Regions from separate parts of the Homo sapiens genome. Here region 1 is linked to region 2. The links are contacts of gene promoters, found by promoter capture Hi-C in human tissues and cell types (Jung and others, 2019). All regions are on one chromosome and are shown on one strand. The core of a region is centred on a gene start or on the middle of the fragment in contact, and the rest is flanking DNA. Distances in the headings are between cores, read along the strand shown.

Region 1 (5,995 bases), core at 216-2,715, 150 kb after region 2:
AACCGTGTGCCAGGTGCACAGTGCAATGGGGGATGAGGCCATTGTCACACACTGGAGTGACATCAGCTGCCACTGGGCTTCACAGCCATTCCCCCAAGAGCACCTGTGTTAAAGGTGAAGAGCTAAGACCTGAGAGATGAAGAAGTTGCCTGAAGTCTCTGCTGGTATAGCAAGAGGCAGGGTGGGGACTCACACTGCCCTGCACCCAGAATAAAGTCCAGGCCCTGAGGACCAAGGGGCCTTGTGGGGGTTCAGAAAAATCAGTAGAAAAGCCCCTCATGCAGGTAGGCAATGGTTAAGCAAAGTCACTGGGGAGGTCTTCTGTGGCCACATAAACTTTTTCACAACAAACTTTTTTTTTTTTTTTGAGACAGGGTCTCGCTCTGTCGCCCAGGCTGGAGTGCAGTGGTGCGATCTCGGCTCACTGCAAGTTCCGCCTCCCGGGTTCATGCCATTCTCCTGCCTCAGCCTCCCAAGTAGCTGGGACTACAGGTGCCCGCCACTACGCCCAGCTAATTTTTTTGTATTTTTAGTAGAGATGGGGTTTCACCATGTTAGCCAGGAGGGTCTCTATCTCTTGACCTCGTGATCCACCCACCTCGGCCTCCCAAAGTGCTGGGATTACAGGCATGAGCCACCGCACCCAGCCCCAGAACAAACTTTTTAAAAGCAAATTAGGGCCGCAGATGGTAGCTCATGATGGTAGCTCACGCCTGTAATCCCAGCACTTTGGGAGGCCGAGGCAGGTAGATCACCTAAGGTCAGGAGTTCGAGACCAGCCTGACAACATGGTGACACTCTGTCTCTACTAAAAATACAAAAATTAGCTGGGCATGGTGGCAGGCGCCTGTAATCCTAGCTACTCGGGAGGCAGAGGCAAGAGAATCATCTGAACCCGGGAGGTGGAGGTTGTAGTGAGCCTAGATCACGCCATTGCACTCCAGCCTGGGTGACAAAGCGAGACTCCGTCTCAAAGAAAAAAAGCAAATTGGGAAAGGTGGTGGGGTAGTAGGTGGAGGAATGGGCTCCTAACACAATTTTCAAGGAATTCGGAGAAAATCATGGAACTGTGCAGAGATCCAAGGTCATGGCTACCCATGGTCAATGTGCAGGAAGCTTCCTTACCATATGCCACAGGAGTCAGCTTCAGGACTGTGTGCAGCGGACACTTGAGGTAGGGCAGCTGTTCTGTAGACACAGAGGGGGATGGCTAGCACACCAGAAATGCCTGGTGACAGTGCCTACCTTCTCACACAACCTTCCCACCTCCCCCGGGGCACAGCCCACACCTGCTGCCTTGTCGAGGAAGTAGGCCAGCAGGCAGCGCATCACAGCCTGGTGGCAGATGACCAGCACATTCTCTTGCCTCTCCAGCTCCATGATGACAGGCTCCAGTCTCTGGACCAGGTCCTCGTAGGACTGCAAGGGCAAGCAGAGAGGGGTCCCTCAGGCCTGGCTCCGGGGGAGGGACAGACACATCCTGGACACTGGGCCACCTTCCACTCCTGCAGCTACTCACCATTCTGGGAAGCTGTGGCTGGGCCTCCTCCAGCCTAGCCTTCTGAGGCCATGGGGGTGGGCAGCTGAGGAAAGGGGCCACCTTTCCCACCTCAGGGCTAGGTCCTGGTAGGATTGAGAGCGCAGAGCTAGGCCTCAGGCTCCATCCCAGGGTCCACCTCAGTGCCCACCCATGGGGCTCTGCACTGAATCCTCAGCTATAGAATTCATGTGACTGGTGGAGAAGACCTCGCCTGCTTCCAGCCCACAGCAAACAGAGTGCACTGACAAGAGCGAAGGGGAAGAGAGCAAAGACCTGGAACTTTCTGGAGTGTGACTCATCAGAAACAGCTGGGGTCCCCAGGAACTATCCTCAGTCTACCTGCCCAGTATCTTCCCCCTATGCCTGCCGTGATGTACGGTTTAGGCCCCTGCTGGGCCTCTCAACCTGGCAGGTTTAGAGATTTTCATCAGTTTCATCCTTCTGCACACAATGAGTGGTCCTTCAAAAATGGCCTCCAGCAGTCAGAACTGAACGTGCCCCAAGCTTTGATTAGGAAGCAAAAATGACACGCTGATTTGTGCCAGTTCCTGGTAGTTCTGAGAAAATCCTAGACCGGTTCTTTTGGTAACATGAATTTCTCAACCAATTCTCCTCACTGTATTCTCATGTTTGAGCAGCCAGCTGCTTTGTTTCTCCTGACCGTTATCTGGGTTGGTTCTAAATCTGAACTTGGCCTAACATAATGTGGGGAATAATTAATGTTCCCAAGAGCTATACTATCCTGAGGATGGTACAGTGTAGAGACCTGTCAGCCTGGCTTCTGGGTGGAGGTGCTTCTACATGTGTATATATATGTGTACATATGTGTGTTGACGGGGTGTATTTTTATTTGGCCCCTGCCCCAGGCCACCTCCTGGAAGTGGAAGGAGATGCCTCAGTCAAAGGTGACCCTCAGTTTCTGACCTGGGGCCTGGGCTGAACTGTGTCAGAGAAGGTGACAAGTGCAGTGGCTTGTGGTAGCCAACTCATGTGTGGAAGGTCTCCCTGGGTCTGGTGCCAGGGCTGGGGGTGGTGCCTGGAGCCACAGGAAGGACAGGATGGGCTCAGCCTGTGACAAGAGGAAGCATCCAAAGGAAGGATGAGGCCCGAGACAGGGACTCGAGTGAGCTGAGACCCGAGTCCCAGGCCTGCCATGGTCTCCCCAACTCCCCAGCCATTTGAGCGCCCCGGAAAGGGCTGACAACTCGCTGGGAAAGGAGCTGGCCTGGGAATGCCAGGGGACCGCACACTGTCTACAGGGGTCCCAGGAAAGCCTAACTCCGCAGATCCCCCACCTCAGGCCCTGCCCTTCCGAATTCTCCACCCCTGGGAAGGGGAAAGACAAGAATGGAGAGCAGGGAGCCAAAGGTCTCCAGGTTGAAGGCCTGCCCTACATGGCACTGCCCACTCCACACCTGAGGAAGGGACTAAGGCCTGGGCTGCATAGCTGGGAAGGGGTGGAGATGAACCACACACCCAGGCTGGCAGGCCTCTGAGACCAGGCCCCTTCTGCTACCCACGCAGCCCCTGCAGAGCCCCACAGGCCCTCAGCCACAGGTGGTACTCCCAGGCGGGCAGTAGGTGGCTGGGACTAAGCCCCAAATCCCACCTACCTCCCCTTTAGGGTACCGGTACCGGTACTTGTCCTGGTCCCGCAGGGCGAACTCCAGTGGATAATTATCCTGAATTTCCTCGTAGGTCATTTCCTCACAGACGCCCTAGGGAGATACCACAGTCATCACACCTCCTACAGGCCCAGAAGATGAGCCTTGGGGACATGTGGGGTGAGGCAGCATCAAGCAGAAGAGACCAAGTTCACGGGCATTTCCTGGGTGAAGGGAACAGAAACCTGTCTAAGGAGGGGAGGACCTCTAGGAACACTGATCATTGGTGGTTCCTTGCTTGTAAAAAGCTACCAGGATGGTCTTGTCCACCTATCCATCACCCATCCAATACACACAGAGATGCTATGTGTTTTTTCTTTTCTGTGCTGTGGAAATAGTACTTGTGAGTGTAGGTTGTTATGCAAACTATGAAGGAAAACTTCACTTGTGTTATTTGGGATACACACACACACACAGAGCATAGATCATCTTCTACAAATGCCATTAAAAAAAAAAAGCTGGCTGGGCGCGATGGCTCACGCCTGTAATCCCAGCACTTTGGGAGGCTGAGGCAGGCGGATCACTTGAGGTCAGGAGTTCAAGACCAGCCTGGCCAACATGGTGGAGGAGGCAGTGGTTGCAGTGGGCTGAGATTGTGCCACTGCACTCCAGCCTGGGCAACAGAGAGAGACTCCCTCTCAAAAGAAAAGAAAAAAAAAGAAAAGTTGGCTGGGCGTGGTGGCTCACAGCTCACAGCCTGTAATCCCAGCACTTTGGGAGGCTGAGGCAGGTGGATCACCTGAGATCAGGAGTTCAAGGCCAGCATGGTCAACATGATGAATCCCCGTCTCTACTAAAAATACAAAAATTAGTTGGGCGTGGTGGCGCACGCCTGTAGTCCCAGCTACTCAGGAGGCTGAAGCAGGAGAATCGCATGTACCCAAGAGGTGGAGATTGCAGTGAGCCAAGATTACGCCACTGCACTCCAGCCTGGGGAAGAGAATGAGACTCTGTCTCAAAAAAAAAAAAAAAAAGATGGGGACATATTGGATTAGAGTGGGTCCTAAATCCAGTCATTGGTGTCCTTTTAAGAACGCCATGTAGGCCGGGCACAGTGGCTCATGCCTGTAATCCCAGCACTTTGGGAGGCTGAGGCAGGTGGATCATGAGGTCAGGAGTTTGAGACCAGCCTGGCCAATATGGTGAAACCCCGTCTCTACTAAAAAAATACAAAAATTAGCCAGGCGTGGTGGCTCACGCCTGTAGTCCCAGCTACTTGGGAGGCTGAGGCAGAAGAATCTCTTGAACCCGGGAGGCAGAGATTGCAGGGAGCTGAGATCATGCCACTGCACTCCAGCCTGGGTGACAGAGCGAGACTCCATCTCAAAAAAAAAAAAAAAAAGAATGTCATGTGAAGGCACAGACAGACATACATAGGGAAGAAAGCCATGTGATGACCGTGGACAGAGGTGGGATTGGAGTGATGAGGCTATGAGCCAAGAAATACCAAGGATTACCAGCAACAACTGGAAACTAGGAAGAGGTGAGGAAGCGTTCTTTATTAGCACCTTCAGAGGGAGCATGGCCCCGCTGACGCCTTGATTTCAGACTTCTAGCCTCCAGAACTGTGAGAGAATCAATTCATGTTGTTTTAAGCCACTCACCTGTAGTGCTTTGTTACGGCAGCCCTAGTAAACTAATACTTTTTTTTTTTTTAACATTTAGTGGTTTTTTTTTTTTTTTTGAGACAGTCTTACTCTGTCACACAGGCTGGAGTCCAGTGGTGTGATCTTGGCTCACTGCAGCCTCAAACTTCCCAGGCTCAGGTGATCCTCCCACCTCAGCCTCCCAAGTAGCTGGGACTACAGGTGTGCGCCACCACACTTGAATACTAACACATATTTTGGTACCAGGAGGTGAAGTGCTGCTGGCTGCTGTAATAAAGAACTAAAAATGTGGAAGTGGTTATGAAATGGGATAGTGGGTAGAGGCTGGAAGAATTTTGTGGTGCATGATAAAAAGCTTAGACTGTCTTGAAGAGACTGTTAGTAGAAATTTAGACATTAAAGATTATTCTGGTGAAGGCACAGAAGGAAGTGAAGAGGATGACAGAGAAAGCGTCCATCATCTTTTTTTTTTTTTTTTTTTTTGAGACAGGGTCTCACTCTGTTGCCCAGGCTGGAGTGCAGTGGTGCAATCTCAGCTCACTGCAACCTCTGCCTCCCATGTTTAAACAATTCTCCTGCCTCAGCCTCCTGAGTAGCTGGGATTACAGGCACAGGCCACCATGGCTGGCTAATTTTTTGTATTTTTAGTAGAGACGGGGTTTCGCCATGTTGACCAGGCTGGTCTCGAACTCCTGGCCTCATGTGATCTGCCCATCTCGGCCTCCCAAAGTGCTGGGATTACAGTCATGAGCCACTACGCCCGGCCAGCTTCCACCATCGTAAAGAGCACATATATCATCATGAAAAGAACGTTGATAGAAATATGAACATTAAAGGTGCCTCTGTGAGCCCACAAGGGGAAATGAGGTACCTTTTCCTGGACCCTAGAGAAAAGGTAATCCATGTTATAAAGTGGCAGAGAATGTGGCTAAACTGAGTTCCCATGTTGGACGGCTACAACCAAGACTGATGGTAACAAGCGCAGGCGGGTATGTGGAGAAATCAGAGCCCTCACACACTGCGGGAGGGAATGTGAGATGGCGAAACAGTGTGGCAGTTTCTGAAAAGGTTGAATGTATAATTACCATATGACCCAGCAATTCTACTCCTAGCGTACAGTGAGGAGAAATAAAAATATAAGTCCGCACAAAAACTTATGCCGGATGCGGTGGCTCATGTCTGTA
Region 2 (6,600 bases), core at 4,101-6,600:
GTTCAAACAATTCCCTGCCTCAGCCTCCTGAGTAGCTGGGATTACAGGCGCCCGCCACCACGCCCGGCTAATTTTTGTATTTTTTTAGTAGAGACCAGGTTTCACTATCATGGCCAGGCTGGTCTTGAATTCCTGACCTTGTGATCCACCCGCCTCGGCCTCCCAAAGTGCTGGGATTACAGGTGTGAGCCACCACACCCAGACAGTACTATTTTTATAACTTCCTATGACTATATAATTATCTCAAAATAAAAAAGTTAAAAAATTAACTGTATACATTTGAGATGAAAAATTTCCTAAGCTCTCTTTCCCATTCAGAACCAATGGAAAGGAATGTTTCCCTGAGGACATGGAATTATACACACAGATATCTGAGCTAAGTGGTCACAGAGTGGGGCCCACAGAATGGTCCCACCATCTGTTCTGCTCATGCTGTGCTGCTCTCTTTAGCTCAGCCATCTCTTCTTCAGTGACAGAGCTCAGGGCCAGGTGACCATGATAGGCCCCACCCACAGCAGCAAAAGGCCAGGAGGCCTGGCTGTGTTCCCAGTAGCACAGGCACTGGGAGGGCTGCACACACACCCCTGCTTCACAGGGAAACTGTTGTTTCTTGGTAACTGAGGGGATTGCAGAGGCAGGATTGCCTAGAGGTTAGGAGCATGGCTGTGGAGTCAAATGGCCTGGTGTGATTCCTGACACTGCCACCAACAGCTGTGTGCCTTTGGCCAGGTGATAACTGCCCTGTGTCACTGCCCCCTCAGAGTTGTTGTAGGGAGTACATTGGTGGACCTGAAGGACTGGTGACCAGACTTTCTGGGAAAGTGTTCCCCAGATTCCACCTGGCTCAGAGATACGGATTTCACAGACTTTAGCATCTACCATAAGGCCAGCACCATGCTAGACATTTCTTTTTCAAGGTACTCCTTTTGGCAAACCCACTTGAGTTCCATTCTTCAGATAAAGAGCCAAGATGCACTGAAATTACATGACCTTCTCAGAGACTCCCACCCAAAGAGAGGCACAGCTGGGCTGAACTCCCATCTCCCTCTGATGGGCGAGCCCAGCTCCTTCCCCCTGCAGGGACCCCTTAGAGCAGGGCCTCCTCACCATCACTGAGCAAACCTGCATAAGTGGCAGTGAACAAAACTGACACCTGAATCATGCACCTCAACTACAACACCCACATTTGAAAGGAAACCTTCCTTGCCCCCCTTGGAGGAAGTGAGCTCAGTTTTGGGAGAGGCTGGGGTGTGTATCAAGCACCACTCTCAGTAAAGCTACAGTGGTAGCCATGGTAGGAGTGATTTTTAATATTTCACATACAAAAAAAAACCTGCTTTAAGAATTGAGAACCAGGAAAAATTGTTCTTCCACGTGAATGGCTGTGCTTCCTTCTCTCGGGGACTGTGGGTGGCTTACCCATGGACTCCTTTGAACTGGAAGCCAGTGTCATCCCTGTAAACATGTTAGTCTCCTGTGAGACTGTTTTCACAACCTTTTAAAATTATGATTTTTATTTCCATTATACCAAGTTATCAGTTGCATGAATCTTAATCAAAGGTGCCTCTAATTCTTTAAATTAGGCCCAGCAACAACAGAAGGAAAGAAAAAATCCTCTTAGCCTAGCATTCTGGAGACAGAATTATATATGTTTATTTGTATCAAGTTTTTTCTGTTATATCTTCCAATTCAAAAATAAAATATTAAAAGGAAGTTTTAGATAAACGGAATCATGAACCCATAACAGGAATATATTCATTTTAATATATTCTCCTCCATCATTATCCACTTGCATGAATATTTACTTAAATAATTGTGAGCAAATTTAAAATACCAATTTAGAATCTACTTGATATCATTTACCTATAAATGTTACATTTTAAATTTCACATGGGTTCCCAATCATGATTTTTAAGTTTTCTCATATTTCACAAAGTTCAACATCTCACATTTACAAATTAACTGATTGGCTCTGCAAAGTCACTATACAGCTTACAGTGCTCAGTCCCTATCCCGGGCTTACATCCTTGAGGTTCCCATGAACACAAAACGTGCCTCTGGAAGAGTCAGGGTACCAAGTCTATCATTTTGCTTCTCTGTATAAATGGAACCATAAATGTGTCCCAAAGCTACTTTGTAGTGGAAGCATAATTTGTTACCCTTTTGCACTCTCTGCAGTGACTCCCTCCAGGGAATGTATCAGGGCCAGTGGGTGTGACACAATAATTGTACCCCAATGCGGGTTCAGATTGCCCACCTGAGCCCCATATCTCTGGAGCCAGACAGAAGTCAGTCATGCCCTGCTTGCACTGGGGACAGTTGAGTCCCCCAGCCTGAGCCAGGGACAACAGGCTGACTTCTGTGGTCCTTCCTTATTTCTCTTAAAAATCTCTCTTTCATGTTTCCTCTCTTTGGTGTTTCCCTCTGTCACCATTTTAAAAAAATGTATCTTCTGTGTTCTTTCCTATTTAGTCAGCATTCTCTTTACTTCATTTCTTTGAACACATTTTGTATTTTTTTTTTTTTTTTTTGAGACAGGGTCTTATTCTGTTGCCAGGCTGGAGTGCAGCCTCCACCTCCTGGGCTCAAGCAATTCTCATGCTTCAGCCTCCTGAGTGGCTGGGACTACAGGACCATGTTTTATTCAGTTGTTTAGCATTTTAAACTCAAGGCTAAAAATATATCCACTTTCATTCTTCTCCTAATCATTCCAAGTTTTCCCAATTCCCTCTTCTCTTTGAGCCATTAGAGCATAACAGCTAAGAGCACTGGCTCTGGGGCTGACTGCTGGGGTTCAAACCCGGTGCCATTTCCCAGGGGTGTCACTGTGGGCAAGTCACCTAACCTCTGTATGTGTTGGCTCCCACCTATGTGTTCTAAAACTGGTGCCTGGGATTGGTTTTAATCAGGTGTGGCAAAGCGTGCAGACACAGCAATGATTGTCATGAAGGAAGAAGTTTATACTCACAGATCCCTATAAACAAGAGGCCTGGCTCCCCACGCAGGGCCACATGGAGAGCACCAAGGGCAGTCAGGAGGCAGAAGGGGCGGGGCAGCATAGGCCTGAGCCTTTATTGTGTTTTCTGTAAGAAACGAAGAGGGCAGAACAGGGTAAGCCTTTTAGAATGGGCTAGTTTAAATGGTTCTGGCTGGCTTTGAGGCATAGGGGCCGTCTCCAGTTGTCTGGTACCTGGCCCTGGGTTGATTTAGGGCAGGAGGAATATTAACTTGCTGTGTGAGAGTTTGGTAAAGGAGATGATTGTGGGTGTGGGCTGTAGCTTGGTTCGTTTGCATAAAAGGCACTCTCCTTTGCTATCTGGCTAGGCCTGGGAAGGAGAGTCTCTCCCCAGTCAGCAAGATCACAAATGCCAGAGCATCAAGAATACAGAAAATTAAAAATATACAGAGAATACAACTGGCCCTGTGATGGATGCCAGACAAATTCAGAATCTAAGAGAACACGGAGCACCCTGGCAAGGTGGCCAGTAATAGGACTTACCTCATCTAGCCGTTGTGAGGATTAAATAGATGAGCCCCTGTAAATTGTTTAGACGGGTGCCTTGCCTGCAGAAGGCGCCATGAAAGGTGTGCTGTTACTTCTCCCCTTGCTACGCCCCCTTTACTTCCCATGCTGTGTCGTCCCTCCCTCTCTGTCCTACTCTCAGGCTGCCCAACTCCTTATGGATCCCTCTTCTCAGGTTTCCCCAGCTGCCTGCTTTAATCTACTTTCTCCTAGACAATGTCCGGACCATTCTCTCACCTGCATCTTATCTTTTGCTTAGACTATTACGCAGTTACCATTTCACATCTCTCAAATTTTACATCTCTTAACTCTTGTGACATTTAGATTTGTCTTCATCTATTGTTGCAATGTGTCTTTCTCTGCCGCTTTTCTGGTAGCACCCCGCCACCACCACCCCCCAACACACCTTCCTGTTCCTCTATTTTTTTTGTTGTTGTTGTTGAGATGGAGTCTCGCACTGTCGCCCAGGCTGGAGTGCAGTAGCGCAATCTCAGCTCACTGCAACCTCCACCTCCCAGCTTCAAGCAATTCTCCTGCCTCAGCCTCCCAAGTAGCTGGGATTACAGGCACCCGCCACCACGCCCAGCTAATTTGTTGTATTTTTAGTAGAGACAGGGTTTCACTATGTTGGCCAAGCTGGTCTCAAACTCCTGACCTGGTGATCCACCCGCCTCGGCCTCCCCAAGTGCTGGGATTACGGGCATGAGCCACTGTGCCTGGCCTCTGTTCCTCTATTTCAAATTCATTCATTCACTCATTCGGCAATTTGCTTCAGTTTCCTTATGTTTGCCTCTTTCTCATCTGTCCTCTTTTCCATTTTATTCCTACTCTGTCTCAGTCCACTTACAGTTATATTTCCTATCTGTGTATTTTATAATATTTGTGCTTTAATACTTTTAAAATATCCTTTATTTTACTGTTTCTTCTCTTCCCTTGTCATATTTTAAAGTGTTTTATTTCTCAGCCTTCTATATCTTTGCATTAATTCTGTTCCTCTACAATAGAGTCCGTTCCAAGCTTTCTGTCTTCCTGTGTCCTTCCACGGCTCTGGCTCTCTCTGCATTATTTCCTATTTATGGAATACAAATCTTTTACCCTTGTATTTTTCTCACTCCTCTCCACACACCCCTTGACTCGCCTTTCCCCACGCCCCTCTAGGTGCTTCTTGGTCTTTGCTTTTCCTTTTTATTTCCTCACCATGTCAATTTGTATTTTTCCTCTCTCTTACTACTGTATCATAAATGGGACTCCCGACAACCACTCCCGTGTGTCTGCCTGGAGGCAGCAGTTTTAAGAAGGGTTGGCCACTGAGCCTCACAGAGGGACCCCTGTCTTATGCTGCAGCAAAGTACCATAGACTGGGTGGCTTACAAACAAATTTATTTCTCACAATTTTGGAGGAGAGAAGTCCAAGAGTCACCTGTCAGCACGGTCAGGTTCTGGTGTGGGCCTTCTTCCAGGTTGCAGCTGACACCTTCTCATGTCCTCGCATGATATGAACAGGGCTAGAGAGCGTTCTGGGGTCTCTTTTATAAGGTCACTGGTCCCATCATAAGGACTCTGCCTGTGACCCACTTACCTCCCAAAGGCCCCCCACCTCCAATCACACCAAGGGTTAGAATTTCAACGTAGGAATTTTGAGAGGACACAAACACCCAGGCTATGACACGGTCTTTAGAAAATCCCAGAATGAGTTGTCAGGTTCTTGGGAGATCTGTAACTGTGGGAAAGCGTCACATCCCAGGGAAAGCCACCAGCTGGGAGAGCCATCCCAGACAAGGCCTGCTCCCTTTGGGCGGACCTCTGTGGAGAAGCCAGCTTGGCACGTTCTTTCTCCTCCACTGCAAAGTTAAATGCGAGAAGGTAGAAACCCAGAGGCCATGCTGGCGCTGAGAGATGAGCCCCACTCACCAGATTCAAGATCCCAAGGTAGGCACAGACACAGGGCAAGCAGACTCCAATTCCAGGAGTTTGGAACTTAAATAGAGTCATAGAGACACTCAGATCTGATCAAAGTGAGTGCACTCGGTGACATTTCCTAAAGGGTTCTGACAACTTCATCTGCAACTGGGGCTGCCCCAGGTTCTGCACCTCCAGCTCACAGCGCACAGGTGTTGCTGAGCTCCTCTAAACAATGAACAGCACTAACAAGTGGGTTTAGGTAGGGATGCCTGCCAGCTGTGTGGATCAGGCCCCAGGGGAGAGGCCGGGGTGGAGGTCAGCCCGGGAGTCTGCACACCTGCAGCTTGTTTCTACCGCACACAGATGGGCATGGGTGAAAATCTTTACAAGTGCTGCAGACTTTGGCAAAGCCTATAAATTCAGAGCAGCCCGGAGAGGAGAAAGGAAAGTGGATGTGGGTTCAGGCCGCATGAAATGGAGATCCGATTGCCTGACTTAGCTTTGAAGCGAATCTTCTCTTTCCTGGACCTGTTCGGCTTGCTGCAGGTTTCCCAGGTGAACAAGGTAAAGGCCTTCCACCTCCCACTGCCCCCCAAGCCCGCTGCTTCTCTCGACCAGTTTGAGCACCACTTTGCAGAATAGCAGAGGGTTACACTGAGGCTTTGGGGGTTAGCATTCTTCATACTGAGGGCCTCATATTCTGTTAAACGAAAAGGACAAGCTGATATCCAGGAGTTGTGCTGACTAAACAGTCCTTGAGGCTCCCATTTCAAGCCCTAGGAAATCAACACTTCTTCCTGTGAATTCATGGGAATACCCAGTGCCTGTATTAGCAGTGATAGGTCTCTGTTGTTACCATTTCCTTATCTCCCCACACTGAGAGTGCTTTGAGAGCTGGAATCCCATCTGATTAACCTGTGCGGGCCCAGCTCCCAGAACAAATAATAGCAGAGGATTACCCTTGCTCTCTGATGTAACTGATTGCCTGCTTGTCTCTTCCTTTCTCTCCCATAGCATTGGAATAGGATTGCAGACAGTGATTACCTGTGGAGGTAAGGGAAGGGAAAGGGCAAGGAGGGAAGGGGAGAGGAGATCATCTGACTGCGCACCCATGCTGTGTCCCAAGGCCTGTGTGGCTGTGTTGTGAGATATACACAGGAAAGTTAGTGTGAGTA

The links. Contacts are between HindIII fragments. The study calls those that stand out against the background at their distance.
Region 1: a contact is called between a fragment that was not itself captured here and the fragment with the promoter of FBXW12 in region 2, in 3 of the 25 tissues and cell types used here (bladder, heart right ventricle and lymphoblastoid cells).

What each region holds. Positions count from the first base shown.
Region 1 is chr3:48,522,412-48,528,406 of GRCh38, forward strand. It overlaps PFKFB4 (6-phosphofructo-2-kinase/fructose-2,6-biphosphatase 4), which reads right to left. Exons shown (of 14, transcript NM_004567.4): 10 at 3,154-3,258; 11 at 1,290-1,419; 12 at 1,126-1,188. Among named protein-coding and RNA genes, the nearest start is that of SHISA5, 21 kb to the left of the region's middle. The HindIII fragment of the contact is 4,280 bases long and covers 1-3,605 here.
Region 2 is chr3:48,366,869-48,373,468 of GRCh38, forward strand. FBXW12 (F-box and WD repeat domain containing 12) reads left to right here and starts at 5,351. Exons shown (of 11, transcript NM_207102.2): 1 at 5,351-5,452; 2 at 5,816-5,989; 3 at 6,440-6,477. The coding sequence starts at 5,900. The HindIII fragment of the contact is 16,322 bases long and covers 674-6,600 here.